4 separate regions of the Homo sapiens genome follow, and all the other regions are linked to region 3. The links are contacts of gene promoters, found by promoter capture Hi-C in blood cells and fetal thymus (Javierre and others, 2016). All regions are on one chromosome and are shown on one strand. The core of a region is centred on a gene start or on the middle of the fragment in contact, and the rest is flanking DNA. Distances in the headings are between cores, read along the strand shown.

Region 1 (3,668 bases), core at 305-2,804, 2.8 Mb before region 3:
TACCCATATGAAATGAAAACATAAAATTGACAGATAAAGACAATTTCCTATGTATCAACTAGACAAAATGCCTACTGTCCTAAGATTCAAGCTTAAAGTTCACATCTTAACAAATCAAACAAGACATAATACCAGCCAGGTGCAGTGGCTCACGCCTGCAATCCCAGCACTTTGGGAGGCTGATGTGGGAGGATCCCTTGAGGCCAGGAGTTCGAGGCTGCAGTGAGCTGTGATCATACCACTGCACTCCAGCCTGGGCAATACAGCAAGACACTGACTCAAAAAATAAATAAGTAAATATATAAAACAACAAAATATAAAACCAATTAGTGAAAATTTCTTACTTCTTAACCTGTGTTTCAGTAAGTGCTATACATTTTTATTTCATTTTATTTCTTTAATATAAAATATTTTAATACAAACATTAAAATTCTAGAATCATAACACTTACCTGTACGGCTTATCAGAGTTATGGATTCGCCTGTGGTTTCTGACACCAACATATGTTGTACTTGTATAATCACACACATCACATCTATATTGTTTCTGGACTGAAGACTTATTCCCTAGACAAGGTATTTCAGAGTTTTAGTAGCAGGCTTTGACAAGATTCAAATGACAGCATTTACATTCCATTGTAAATGAAAATTTATACCACACAGTTGTATTAATATTTCAATCACGGCTTTCTCACTGTTTTAACAAGTCTGAAGTGGTTTTATAGGTTTTCCTGCATATACACTATCAGCAGATATAAACTGAACATCATCTGACCTATAAACACAGATAGGTTGGGATGATTCCTGCATAACCATGTACAATATTCTAAGTCATAATGAACTTGCTTCTGGCTATGTAGGAGCTAAATTAATCAGAGACACCCTGTTGATCTGTATCACCAAATAGGTGTTACTCTAACCAATATTGGATATACTGTCTTACAGAAACACTGACTTGACAACAAGCTGTAATTTAATACTATACTCCAATATTATAAAGTGTGGCTATGAAGCATATATAACCAACTCAATATAAAAAGCCTGGCTAGGTGTGGTGGCTCATGCCCATAATCCTAGTACTCTGGGAGGCTGAGGTGGGAGGACTGCCGGAGGCCAGGAGCTGGAGACCAGCCTGGGCAACAGAGCAAGAGATCTCTCCCCCACTCTCACCCTACAAAAAAAAAGCCTAAGGCCTTTTCACCCAGTGCATTTTCTTTGTTTACCACTAAACGTCAGCTACCAACGCAACAAGAAAGGAAAAGCGGCCGCAAATTTTTAAGTGCTATGCAATGTATAATTCTTTCTAGTTAACTGACAGGTTACAGGGACAAAGGTTATGACTGACATGAATATGCAGCTCTCCGAAACGCAGGAGACATGGATCCAACGAAAAGTAGCCATGTTACTAAACTCACTCTGCAACAACAGGGCTGAGTAATTCAAGTTGGGGTAAGCTTATGTCAACACGAGTTGAGTGACTTGATCATATAAAACGATTTCTTGAAGATATTCAACGCTTCATGTACTTGTCTGTCAGCATACAGTCCACAGGCTATTCACACTCTGCTTTATATTCAGAAACAAAGCAAGCATGGAAGCTCATGAAAAAGGCAGAGCAGGAAGAACTGTGTGTCTCTTGGCAGGAAGAAAGCTTAGGTAGAACACCTGTATACACCGCATAAAAGTAAAATCCGTGGTATTATACAAAGGAAAACCCACACTGAAATTTCAACAAAGAAAATCCTTAAGTTAAATTTACGGTTTCTAAAATTGAAATTTTCTTTTGCTAATAACTACTGCCAAGCAGAACAAAATGTCCTAATTTCCTGGTATAAATCTATAACGTTAATATACACACTAATCATAATTATAATCTAAGTATTGCTCTTAATTGGTAGGTTAAAAACTTGGACTTGATTATAAATGGCACTGTTCCAAATACAGTTTTAAAAAAACCCTAAAAAATGAAGTGTGAAATATTGGATAATGGTTTTGTGTGAGAAATATTACAGATCAATGACAACTAATAAAACTGACAGATGGAAAAACTTAATATAGCACAGAATGAGAGCCTGTGCTACTTCAAGCAACTGTTTCCAATGGAAAGAATATTGGATTTAAAGTTCAAAAACTTGGGCTTAGTCCTCGCTCTGCCACTTTCTACCAGTATGATCATGGGTAAATTATTTTGCCTCTTGAAGTCTCAGTTTTCTCATCTACAAATTGGAAATGCTAGAACCTCACAGCATAGTTTAGTAAGTCCTATATTTTTCCTTTAGCAAAGTCTGTACTTTACCTGCATGTCTGGGTAAAATCTCTGCCCTGCCACTAAGCTGTCTATTCCCTGAGGATAAGGATCTGCTTGTTTTGTTTAGACTGAATCCCCAGCGCTTGGCAAATTATAGGTTTCCAATAAAAAACAATTTAATTAGGTTTCATGGAGTAACACCATACGAAAGGGCTTTGCTTGCGGCTCTATTTGAGCTCCTGCGGTATCTGCTGACATACCCATCAGCCTCGTTCTGTCTTCTTCACTGAGTTGGATTCCTGAAGGGCAGTGATGCCTTTCACTGTACTCCCAGCACCTAACACAGTATCTAGCTCAAGACAGGCAGGCCATGCCTTTTGGCCAAGCAAATGTTAAGCTGAAACATGCCCTAAGGTATCTGTGCTATCTGAATGGCAGAGACTGAGGATCACAGAGGCACAAATCTCTCTTCTTGTTTAACAAGTTTACTAAATAGGTAAAGAAGTTTTAACAAAGCATGAATTATTATTACCTTATTTGTGAGCTAAAAATTTTTTCTTTGGCCTGACAACCAGATTTCAAAATATCTAATATTGAGTTAATAAAGTACCCATCCAGGTATAAGTATGCAGCCATTTGAACTGCTACAGTACTGAGAGAAAAAAGCAAATGGAGCCAGGTGGAGGAAAAGAGGCATGGCAGGCAATTTAAAAATCCATGCATGTAACCCTAAAAAAAAAGCATGAGCCACAAAGAAAAGATGCTGCAACATAAAATCTAGTAAACATTCATTAATACTGTAAAGTCTGAAGTGGTTATTTTAATTTTGAGCTGACACTTTAATCTTTTTATTAAAATTGTGAATTTTAATGTTAACTCATTTGGACAGTTTGAAATGTTTGCTTTTTAGGACGGTGCTAAAAAAGACATCTTCCAACACTGATATTAACTGCAGGTGGTGCTACTGAGTAGTATTTACTTCATCCTTTCATTAGGGATTTATGGTCCAATCATATCAGACGTTTTAATGTCTCCTTTAAAGGGGATATGGAAACATAATGAATTAAAATAAAAGGAGGCATTTAGGGCTATTTTGTAAAAAGGAAACAAAACTGTTTTAGCTCAGCCATCTACTGCAAAAACAGATGCTATATCATAAACTCCTTTTGTTTCAGAGAGTTTTACAGGGATGACATCTGTTTGACATGAGAATTTTGGTGCTACAGTGGTGTCAAAATCAGTTCTTTCAGAAGCATTCTAGAATCAGTTATGCTTTCTGGGGTATAATTTAATGAAACATTATGGTAAAACATTTCACTCTGTAGTCGTTTCTAACTTTAATTCTTAGCAAATCTAAAAGGGAAAGTCACCCCAATATGTCTTATCTCCCATAAACATTATGTGCCACACTGGAGACATTT
Region 2 (3,449 bases), core at 93-2,592, 2.8 Mb before region 3:
TTTTCATGTAACGTGGCAAGGTAGACAGATGTAAGAAGTCCAATGCAAAGGGCAATGGTTCCACCAATTGTCAATGACAAAATCTTCCATAATCTTCTACTGGTACAACCTTTTGGAAAAATGGAACAGATAAATAACTAAGTCAGTAAAAAAATCAGAATGTAATAGTTCTACTTCAGATTATCAAGTAAGCTAAGTCTAGCTGCCTGTCACTGGGAAAGCTTTTCCTGTCTCCAGCGGAGGGTCCTTTCTGATTCCACAGACCTGTTTTCATTCTATTACAACTGTTACCCCGTATCTAACTGTCCATGTGTCCATTCTGCCAACTACAACGTGAGCTTCTTGAAGACAAATACATTATCTTATTCATGTTTAATACTGAGGGCCTCTGTCCGGCACAGTTTAACAACCGTAATTTAACTATGAAGTCTGTTAAATGGATGACTAAATGTGTTACGTGTCTAGGACGTAATCGATCTTTTAGATAATCTAGGTACAATTGGTGGCTTATTCTTTAAAAGCTATTTTAAAAACTTGATTACCTAAAAAATAATTATTGTTTTTTGAGACAGGATCTTGTTCTGTTGCCCAAGATGGAATGCAGTAGTGCAATCTCGGTTCACTGCAACCTCTGCCTCCTAGGTTCAAGCAATTCTCCCACCTCAGCCTCCTGAGTAGCTGGGACTACAGGCACATGCCACCATGCCTGGCTAATTTTTGTATTTTTAGTAGATACAGGGTTTCACCATGTTGGCCAGGCTGGTCTTGAACTCCTGACCTCAAGTGATTCACCCACCCAAGCTGGGATCCTAAAGTGCTGGGATTACGGGCATGAGCCACTGCACCTGGCCGATTACCTAAAACTTTTTTTTTAAACCCACAGGTTTTGCAGGAATGCTCTGGGGGGAAAAACCCACAGAATAAATAATCCAACATAACTCAAGTTAAAGGACATATAAACTAGGCAAAATATGGATAGCACATATAAGAAAGCTTAAATACCCTTAACATAAGATGAATACTTTCAGGACAATTTATTTTATTTCAGGACAATTTATTGTCCTGTCAAGATGAATACTGCAGTAGGAAAAAGATTAAGGACATGAACAGGCAATGTACAATAGAAAAAAGTGGCCAATAATAATAACAGACTGAAGATGTTTAAATTCATTAATGTTAAAGAAATGCAAATCAAAACTGTGAGTTATACTTAAATCTTGGCCAATTTGACAGCTTTCAAAATGCTAATACTGTTTTGGTAAGGGTATAAAAAATAGACATCTTCAAACATTGCTGCTAGAAGAATAAATTGGTGCCTCTCTGGAATGCAACATGGCAGCAGTGAGTAAAAGCCACCAAAATGAGCATCCCATTTGGCCAGTAATTCCCAATCTAGGCATGTACCCTGCTGTGGTTTGACTATTCGGCCCCTCCAAATCTCATGATGAAATGTGATTCCCAATGTTGGAGGTGGGGCCTAATGGGAGGTGGTGTGGTGATGGAACCAGAGCCCTTATAAACAGGTTGGTGAGATTCTAGCAGTACTGAGTTTTCATTCTGTTAGTCCTAGGGGAGCTGGTTGGTTAAAAAAGAGCCTGACATCCTGTGTTCCCTGGAAATTGCTTCTACTCTGGTCATGTGATCTCTACACACTGGCTCCCCTAAGTCTTCTGCCACGACTGGAAGCTTCCTGAGGTCTCACTAGAGGCAGATGCTGGTGCCATGCTTCTCATACAGTCTGCAGAACCCTGAGGCAAAGAAACCTCTTTTCTTTATAAATCACCTAGCCTCAAGTATTCCTTTATAGCAACAGAAATGGACTAAGACATGCCCCAAGGAAATAAAGTTTTAAACAAACATATGGCCACAAGGAAATTGATCACAGTTCTGTCTGTATTAGCAAATGGTAAGAAAACCTTTCACTTCTACAGTGGCAGCTATAAAAATACTTTACATAGATGATATTTCAAAAATACGTTAACTGGCTTATGACATGTTCATAACATAATAAGAGAAAAATAGCAAGCTACAAAACAGCACGTGGATCCCAATTTTGCAAAACTGTATACGAATGCTTATGGGTATACATGTGCAGAATATGACATTAAGACAGCAAGACAGTGCCACTGGTGTTAGTTTCAGGATGGGAGTATATTTCTTTTTCTTTGCATTGTTTAAGGTGTTCAGAAAGTACTATTATCCAAAACGTGTTAATCACTCGCTAATGGCTGAGCCAGGTGTCATGACCTCCCATTACAGATTACTTTTGTTAAACTGTTTCCCTGAATTGCTTTACTAGCCTGGCTGGTAAGAATTAACATGGCTGTAAATAATGTAAATTCTGTCAGATATCCAAAATGGTTAATGGGTATGAAGATTTTCATGTTAACTTTTAAAATCCTGACCATGCTTTAGTTACAAAAGCTACTCAGGAAGCAAGAAGTTGGTAATTAATGCTATCTGATGCATCACTTAGCAAGTCTTTACCATTATACAAACAACTGACCAAGTTCTGATTACTTTTCCCACCAATAAAAGAAAAAAAAAAAAAAGCAAAAGAAAACTTCAGGAATTTGACTAATTATAAAGAATTTTTAAAAAATGTTGATCCACCTTTCACTACCTTAATGGAAACTCACCCAAGGTAAGGTTGCCTGGTGTAAATAGTATACACGACCAGAAAAATTAGAGAGAGACTAAAATCTGGGGTGTGGGTGGGGGGACCATTACTCTAGAGAGTCAAAGGATGAGATTGGAAGAACCGTAAGTTAATGAACAGACAGCTGACAAACACTTCTAATCAAAGCTCTTTCATCTTTTGTCAAATCATAACTGTAAAATCAATCTAATCAAATTGCAATTAGAATATCAGGGTACTACAACAAGTTTCAATTGTTAGGTCCCACCAAATTTTTATCCTATTGGAGAGTGACATTTTAATATGCAGAAATAAAAGCAACCCAAATTGCTGCTTTAGTTTAAATCACCTACCAGATGGCAATTTATTTTCCAACTTCACATTTTCTTCTTGGGCTGGAAAGTCTTCAGAAACTTCTGTGGCTCTTATTTCTCTTCTTTGCCGGATGGACATCATGATGTCAGACTTACATGCATTGTTCTCCAAATCACTCCTAGATAGCAATAAACAGGCCATCAACGTCAGTGCCTTCTCCCCAACACACCCCGTGCTCATCCATGCTGAAATGCCTTTACTTATGCCATTTTCCCTCTATTAGCATGCCCTCCCTTTTTTTTTCTTCCCCCCAAGACAGGGTCTCACTGTCACTCAGGCTGGAGTGCAGCGGCACCATCACGGCTCACTGTAGCCTCTACTTCCACAGGCTCAGGTGATCCACCTCAGCCTCCCGAGTATCTGGACTACAGGCATGTGCTACTACACCTGGCTAATTATTTTTTGTAAAGATGGGGTCTCCCTATCTTGCCCAGGC
Region 3 (3,497 bases), core at 364-2,863:
ATTAAAAGTTATATGATATAGCTGTCTAGGATGTAGATGGTTAGAAATAGGTTTTGTTAACTGTAAGATGTTTAAAAAGATTCTTCACATTTTAATATGAAATTATAATGTGTCACATAATCGATGGTGTCCTGAACTGATAAAATACAAGTTTTTCCTTTAAACTCAAAATATACATTGGTCAATAAAGTTTCAACCTCTAAAATAAATTCCACACTTCTGTTTCTTAATTTTTTGAAAGAAGAAAACCATGGCACTGGGGACAGAGTACAGGTGTGAATGGAATAAGAATGGGACTACTAAGGCCTGGTTTATGAGCTAAATAGCTAGAAAATGTAATTTACACTATACTCTGTAAATTTAATTCCAGCTTTCTTGTACTTCCCTGAGAATGTTTGATGCAAGGTGGTTACAAGTTTTTTTTTTTTGTTGTTTGTTTGTTTGTTTTGATACTGGGTTTTGCTCTGTTGCCCTGGCTGGAGTGCAGTGGCACAATCATAGCTCACTGCAACTTCGACCTCCTGGTTTCAAGTGATCCTCCCACCTCAGTCTCCTGAGTAGCTGAGACTACAGGTGTGTGCCACCACACCTGGCTAATTCTTTTTTTTTTTTTCCAGTTTTTGTAGAGACAGGGTCTCGCTATGTTGTTGCCCAAGTTGGTCTTCAACTCTTGGCCTCAAGTGATCCCCCTGCCTCAGCCTCCCAAAGTGCTGGGACCACAGGCGTGTCCCACCACACCCAGCCAGGTATGTTTGTTTGATCAAGCAAACCAATGTGGTTGCAAGTTTTATATATAGCATCTAGTTCTCCCTCAAATGGAAGATGGGGATTATAAACTGTAGAGAGCAACTTGCGGGGCCTGATAACTTTGCTTCATCTGTTACAGGTGCTTAGTAACAGACTTGGAAGTCTTTCTGCAACAATACACATCTAACAATTACTGAACATCCATTACTTGCCAGAAACCTCATTACAAGGTACACATATTTTTTCTCATTACACTTATGTGCATGAGCAAACTGAAGCTCAGACATGCCGAGACAATCTACTTGATCATATAGGTAGAAAGTGGCAGAGATGAAAAATAAAAATTCTGATTGAAGGCCCAGTCTTAACGGTGTCTACACGCCCCTCCTTGGCACATGTCTTCTACCCCTAAGGACCAAAGCTTTGGGTTAGTGATATCATTCCCCAGCAGCTCTCGGCGCTTTGCATCAGGTTAAGAGTGTGAAACCAGCTCGCAGAAAGGAGCAGGATCTTGACCGCGGTCACCCCGGGAGATAGTGGCCAAGTTGAGCCAAGGCCTGGAACCCTCCTCTAGCATCGCACACCACTGAGCAGCCTCCGGGAGAACCTGCCTCCAGCCCTGACATCCCTCCCTAGCTCAGAGGTCGAGCCAGGCTAACCCGTGCTCCAGCCCTCAGTTTTTCTTAGGTAGGGTGGGCCCATTCCTGTAGCGGTTCTGTTAGGACTCCGCAGCAACAGGTAGCCCGGACCCATTTCACCCACCAGTACCAAGACCCCGACCCTTAACGTCCCCAACCCTCTCCAACTTCGCGGCCCCGCTTACTCTTCATTCTCGGACCGCTTCCGGCGCTCTCTGATGACGCACTGGCAGCTGCTGTCGCAGACTCTCGGAGCTCGGAGATGGCGCTATGCGTGACATCACCGGCGCTCGCCCACCTCGGGGGCGCATGCGCCTGGAAAGGGATTCGGCTACTGAGAACGTCGTAGGCGGTGTTGCTGAGCAGTGGGGAGGAGTGGGCTCGCTTCCTGGGGTCTTTTCCGCCTGCATCTTTTGGGGGACAGGCAGTAGGGTTGGGGTAAAGGCATGTGGAATGCTTGCTAAGGCCTGGAGTGGAGCGAGGCGAGGCGACTTGGAGAGGACTCGAAGGAGGTTGGGGATCTGGGAGGGCGGAAATGGGACGGGGACGGTGGGGTGAGGTCTTTGTCGTCCCTAATCAGCGCCCTTACGGATGAGCCGAGGCAGCTTCCGCTGTGAGCACGGGCACCGAAGCTGGGACAGCAGGCTTAGGTTCTAGTTCCGTGTCTGCTGCTAACTAGCTGTTTAACCTCGCTTAGGGCACTTCCCATCTGTAAGCCTCACTTGCAGTCTGTGCTGTGAGTGGGGTCGGCCTCACAGGTAGTGATGCGCCGCCTGGGTCCCTTTGATAGTTTCAGAAAGCTTTCTTGAGACTCAGAATATTTATTAGTTTTTATCAATAAAAAAATCATAGCAATAAGATCAAAGGTGGCTCACACCGTGGGAGGCGCAGGCGGGAGGATCTCTTGAGCCCAGGAGTTCGAGACCAGCCTGGGCAACATCGGGAGACCCCATCTCTACAAAACATTTAAAAAAAATTATCCAGGCGTGGTGGTGCGTGCTTGTAGTCCCAACTACTCGGGTATCTGAGGTGGGAGGATCAGTTGAGCCCAAGGAGTTTAGGGCTGCAGTGAACCTGGATTGCGCTACTGCACTCCAGCCTGGGTGACAGAGTGAGACCCTGTCTCCAAAATAAATAAATAAATTCCATATAAATAAATAAATGAATAAACAAACTCCATTGCTCAGTGGAAAGGTGCAGGAAGGCCTGGTGCAGACTTCTCAGCAGTGACCCAGTGTTGGGCAGAACTGTGGAGCCCCAATTTCTGCTGAGCACTGGGCCTGTGCTGGGTGGGAGAGAAAAGAAATACGGTCCCTTTATGCTAAGTCAGTGGTTCTCAACTTTGAGTACAGTATACATTTCTTTACAGGGGATTCTGGGAGTATGTCCAAAGGTTTTAGTTTGAGAAACATTGGCTTAAACAATTTCTTTGGTGGTGACCTTGTACCATTTTGATTTTAAACATTAGACTGCAGGCACTGAAATTGGTTCATCCCAGTGACCCCGCGTGCATTGACTTTATAAAATTTATGTATTAGTTTTTGCATATGTAGTACACTTATGCATTTATTTTATACGTATAAAATTTGGAAAGACCACATTTAAACCAAAACATGCTGCCTTTGCAGATGCCTGAAAATTGTAATTTATGGGACTGATAGAGAACTTTTATTATTTTTAAAATTAACCAATAAGAATTGTATGTATTTATGGTATACAATATGGTTTGAAATGTGTATACATTGTGTAATGGCTAAATGAGCTATGAGCGATGCTAATACACTCATTTTGTGATGAGAACACTTCAGACCTACTCTCAGTGAAATTCAGGTTATTAACTGAAATTCACTGTTATTAACTATAGTCACCATGTTGTACAATAGAGCCCTTCACAAATGTGAACTTTAAAATCAAATGAGACAGCAGAAGATGTTAGCCAGTTTCAGAGCTGTGTACTCAAGGGGGGCCCTTTTAGGCAAGACCTCTGTGATTATGGAGATTAATGAGAAGACCTGTGTCTTTGAAAGTTTTTTTCTAGGGTTGTTAGGACTCTTAACTCCCAGTTGACTCCTTCTGGGATCCCTGGATAACTGCCAGTCTCCCCTCGAATTC
Region 4 (3,449 bases), core at 567-3,066, 3.0 Mb before region 3:
TAGATGACAAGTTAGTGGGTGCAGCGCACCAGCATGGCACATGTATACATATGTAACTAACCTGCACATTGTGCACATGTACCCTAAAACTTAAAGTATAATAACAAAAATAAAAATAAAAAAAGCTTTTGGTAGGAAGGGGAAAAATTCAAAACACAGATCTGGCCACTTGGCTATGATACTAAAACAACTTACCCAAATGTTTTATTTTGCATAACAAGTTTATTTTTTTAAAAGGCATATAGACAATAAACAAAGTAAATAATCAGATCTTAACTTCTGTCCTAGACTTGTTCCGTTAAGTTCTAGTCTGTGAGCACTTGTAGTTCAATAATCGTCATCTTCATCAGAGTCCATTACTTTTCTTCTGTTGAACTGGGAGGAAAATTAAATGAGTGTCAGAACATTTCTAATAAAGCATAACTCAGATTTTCCGAGAAAAGATTTCTACCAATTTTAGCAAGACATTTGTGTCTTTAAAGCAACTTAGCGTGAACTAAAAGGGTGGGAATGGAGTCAAGAGCCTATAAAAATTAGAACCCTCCCCCAACAGATTCAGCCTTTCTCCCCAAACTTTCACGTGTTTGACAAAAGGAAAATGTCTCTGGGCTGAAAAATATGTGTGGTAGATGTATACTCAACATTAATCTTTAAAGTATCCATCTTTTCATTTGCCACAAGCATCTGGGGACACTTACTTTCACTGTTGTTGTCTTTTCTGTTTGTTGGCTTACTTTTTTAAGGATTTCTATTAAACCTTGTTCTGATACCTAGGAGAACCAGAAAAGATAAGAAAAACAGTACTTTTTTAAACAAAGAATTTACCTCTGCAGATGGAATCACTTTGTACTCTTTTTGAGGTGTGGGGAAAGAGCTCAGGAAGGAAGCAGTGGTGAGGCAGGAGGTTGAAACTATTGGTTATAACTATTGGTTTAAGTTCCAAATAAAATTTGCTCTGCTATTCCTCACTTGAGAAGGAGGGGGAAGTATCCATAAAATTGCTTCCTCAGGAAAACTGAAAGCTAACATATTTAAGAACACCTTTATCATCACTAGCTGAGTGTGACAACCACATATACCACGGTGTTTGGTGTCAGGAATAGACACACCACTTCTGCCCGAGAAGCTTAAACATCCCCTTGAAGGAGGTAAGTCACACTCGGAAAAGATCAACCCAACCAGCTCTCTCCCACACAAGCAGTTCTCAGTGTGAGGGGTTTAGGGGACAGGACCAATTCGGGTAGGCTGTGGTGGTAGCAGACGGCTTCTCAGGGCAGGTGGGGTTCGTCTTGATCTCAAAGGCCAGGTTTGCCACAACATACCCCTCATGGTATTACAGCAACACAGAGAACATAAGCAAGGCATCTTAGCACCTTCTCATCTGCAAAACACACCTTCTACTTACACTGGTAGTATTTTAATTGGTGTTACTGACAAACCTTGCTTCCAGTGCAGGGGCAATTGAAGCTAGCTGACCCTAACAGTCATTGGGTCACAGACACCAACAAGGTTCCAGAGCAACGCCAGGAAAGGAGCGAAGCAGAGGAATTTAGGAAAGGCAATTTATTCTCTTTTAAAGTAGGTATGACTATTCTCTCCAACAATTTCTTCTGAGAGTCAGCAAGAATTCTGTAATCCAGTGAAGATGCAGCTGACCTTTTGAAGCCATGTTTTGATAAAGCAGGTAACAGTAAAGTTCCTCAAGGCTGTCTAAGCTTACCTTCTCACTTAGTTGTCCATATCTTGCCATCTGTATAAGGTAATTCTCTACTGCTTTAGTTTTTTCAGGCTTTACAAGTGCTAAGTTACTTACTAAAAAGAAAAAATACATATGCAAAAAATCCATTAAAATCAAATGCACTTATGTTATACCTTAAAACTATGCATTGACCTTTCCAAAGCACTTCACAAGCTTGTCCCTCAGTGTAGGGCAAGACAGTATTGTTACTCCTCTTAAAAATGAGAAAACTGAAGTTCACCCATGCCAATCTCCACATGGGCACATGGGGGTAGTGGCCCAGCCAAGATTAAAGTTGGGTTCTCAGATTCTAAGCACCATGCTTCCTGTTTCTTAAAATATATGACTGCCCTCTGGAAAGCGGTTTATCTATTACACATAATGGTGGTGATCCACCTGTGGCCGCCTTTTCTACACTCAAACTGGGCTTCCAGTTAAAATACAGAAAATACCAGTTCATTCTGACTGTCTCATTTTTTCTTTCTACAGGTTTTGGTTTTTATGATGAACAACTCTGAACATACACTAAAACTGACAATACATATAAAAAGCCCCTAAGTCCCCCATCCCCAGTCCCCATCACCAGTTGACACAAAATGTCAACTACCAGCAACATTTTGTGATTGGCCCTATGAGTTGTTTCCTATAAATCTTACCTAATACACACCTGGAGAACATCTTGGTAAGAGAAGTGACCTGGTACTTTTACTAGGGATTAAAGTACAGTTCTCTAGGTTTATAAACTTCACACTTCTTACACATCTCAAGTGTTTTCAGCCTAAGCAAATATTTCATCTAGTGATAGCAATAATGGTATCTAATCACCCCATTCAACTAACTCAAGCTAACTTTATGGAAATGAAATCAAAGATGCTTACACCTGGCCCGGGCCGACTGATCCAGAACTTGGGCTAAGATACTGTTTCTCATTTCTGCTTCCCTACAACGAAAACATAGGTCAAACACAATTAAAACACAGCTGTCGGCATTCCCATGTAACATACGAGAAAGAACCCATCCAGTATGTGTCTCCACATGGGGCCTGCGGTATACAAACTGCATTATGGTAGTTGCTGTACATAAGGCTGCAGCTACATTCAAGTAGAATCCCCTTTTGCCCTCAAAGAACCAGCTTTATATTACACAGGTGACAACCTACCAGGCTGGAAGGTGAGCTTTACAGTTTCATCAGAGTGGAGCCTCAGTTCAAACACCATCACCAACATTTCTTAAGTACCTATTGCGTGACAGGTGCTAGAAATTTATAGTGGGATTTCAGGCAATTAGAAGGACCATGTGACTAATCTATATCATTTTCTTAGAGATAAAGCTGAGATCCAGGAGGCTATGCTAAAGAGACATAGGTAACTGTGGCCAAGCTACAGCCAGATTCCATGTTTTAAGACTCTCAGTTCTATTTTTCTGGGTGGGGAAGGGGAATGAAATTATAACTTTGCAACTATCCTCACTTCTTCCTACCTACCCAAATAGAAAGTAGTTCACGTTCACAGGACAGTGGTCTCATGGACTTGTTTCTTTTTTCTTTCAAATGAAATCCTTTAAGAAATCTAAAAACAAATGAGCACAGATGCTTTGGCTCAACTGAGAGGGAGAGCTGGGGCTGGCTGTGCCCACTATCCACTCCCAGCTCAGAGGCCCTTCGGTTCATGGAATGTGGCTTAAAGCTCATTTCCATAGGCCACTTCTTTAT

Evidence for each region. The method cuts DNA at HindIII sites, captures the fragments that hold promoters and counts their contacts. A CHiCAGO score of 5 or more calls a contact.
Region 1: a contact is called between a fragment that was not itself captured here and the fragment with the promoter of POP4 in region 3, in 1 of 17 cell types (erythroblasts). The highest score is 5.7, in erythroblasts.
Region 2: a fragment that was not itself captured here is called in contact with the fragment with the promoter of POP4 in region 3 in 1 of 17 cell types (monocytes); the score reaches 5.7 in monocytes.
Region 4: a contact is called between a fragment that was not itself captured here and the fragment with the promoter of POP4 in region 3, in 1 of 17 cell types (total B cells). The highest score is 7.5, in total B cells.

The regions. Positions count from the first base shown.
Region 1 is chr19:32,357,402-32,361,069 of GRCh38, reverse strand. ZNF507 (zinc finger protein 507) reads right to left here. Exons shown (of 7, transcript NM_001136156.2): 5 at 452-566. Among named protein-coding and RNA genes, the nearest start is that of ZNF507, 14 kb to the right of the region's middle. The HindIII fragment of the contact is 197 bases long and covers 1,456-1,652 here.
Region 2 is chr19:32,407,899-32,411,347 of GRCh38, reverse strand. DPY19L3 (dpy-19 like C-mannosyltransferase 3) reads right to left here. Exons shown (of 19, transcript NM_001172774.2): 2 at 2,992-3,131; 3 at 1-109. The coding sequence starts at 3,094. Among named protein-coding and RNA genes, the nearest start is that of DPY19L3, 3.9 kb to the right of the region's middle. The HindIII fragment of the contact is 693 bases long and covers 996-1,688 here.
Region 3 is chr19:29,604,399-29,607,895 of GRCh38, reverse strand. It overlaps POP4 (POP4 ribonuclease P/MRP subunit), which reads right to left and starts at 1,613. Exons shown (of 7, transcript NM_006627.3): 1 at 1,571-1,613. The coding sequence starts at 1,577. RefSeq lists an enhancer at 1,471-1,960. The HindIII fragment of the contact is 1,017 bases long and covers 1,171-2,187 here.
Region 4 is chr19:32,584,179-32,587,627 of GRCh38, reverse strand. PDCD5 (programmed cell death 5) reads right to left here. Exons shown (of 6, transcript NM_004708.4): 3 at 2,617-2,678; 4 at 1,721-1,812; 5 at 699-770; 6 at 175-375. The coding sequence ends at 328. Among named protein-coding and RNA genes, the nearest start is that of PDCD5, 4.7 kb to the right of the region's middle. The HindIII fragment of the contact is 197 bases long and covers 1,718-1,914 here.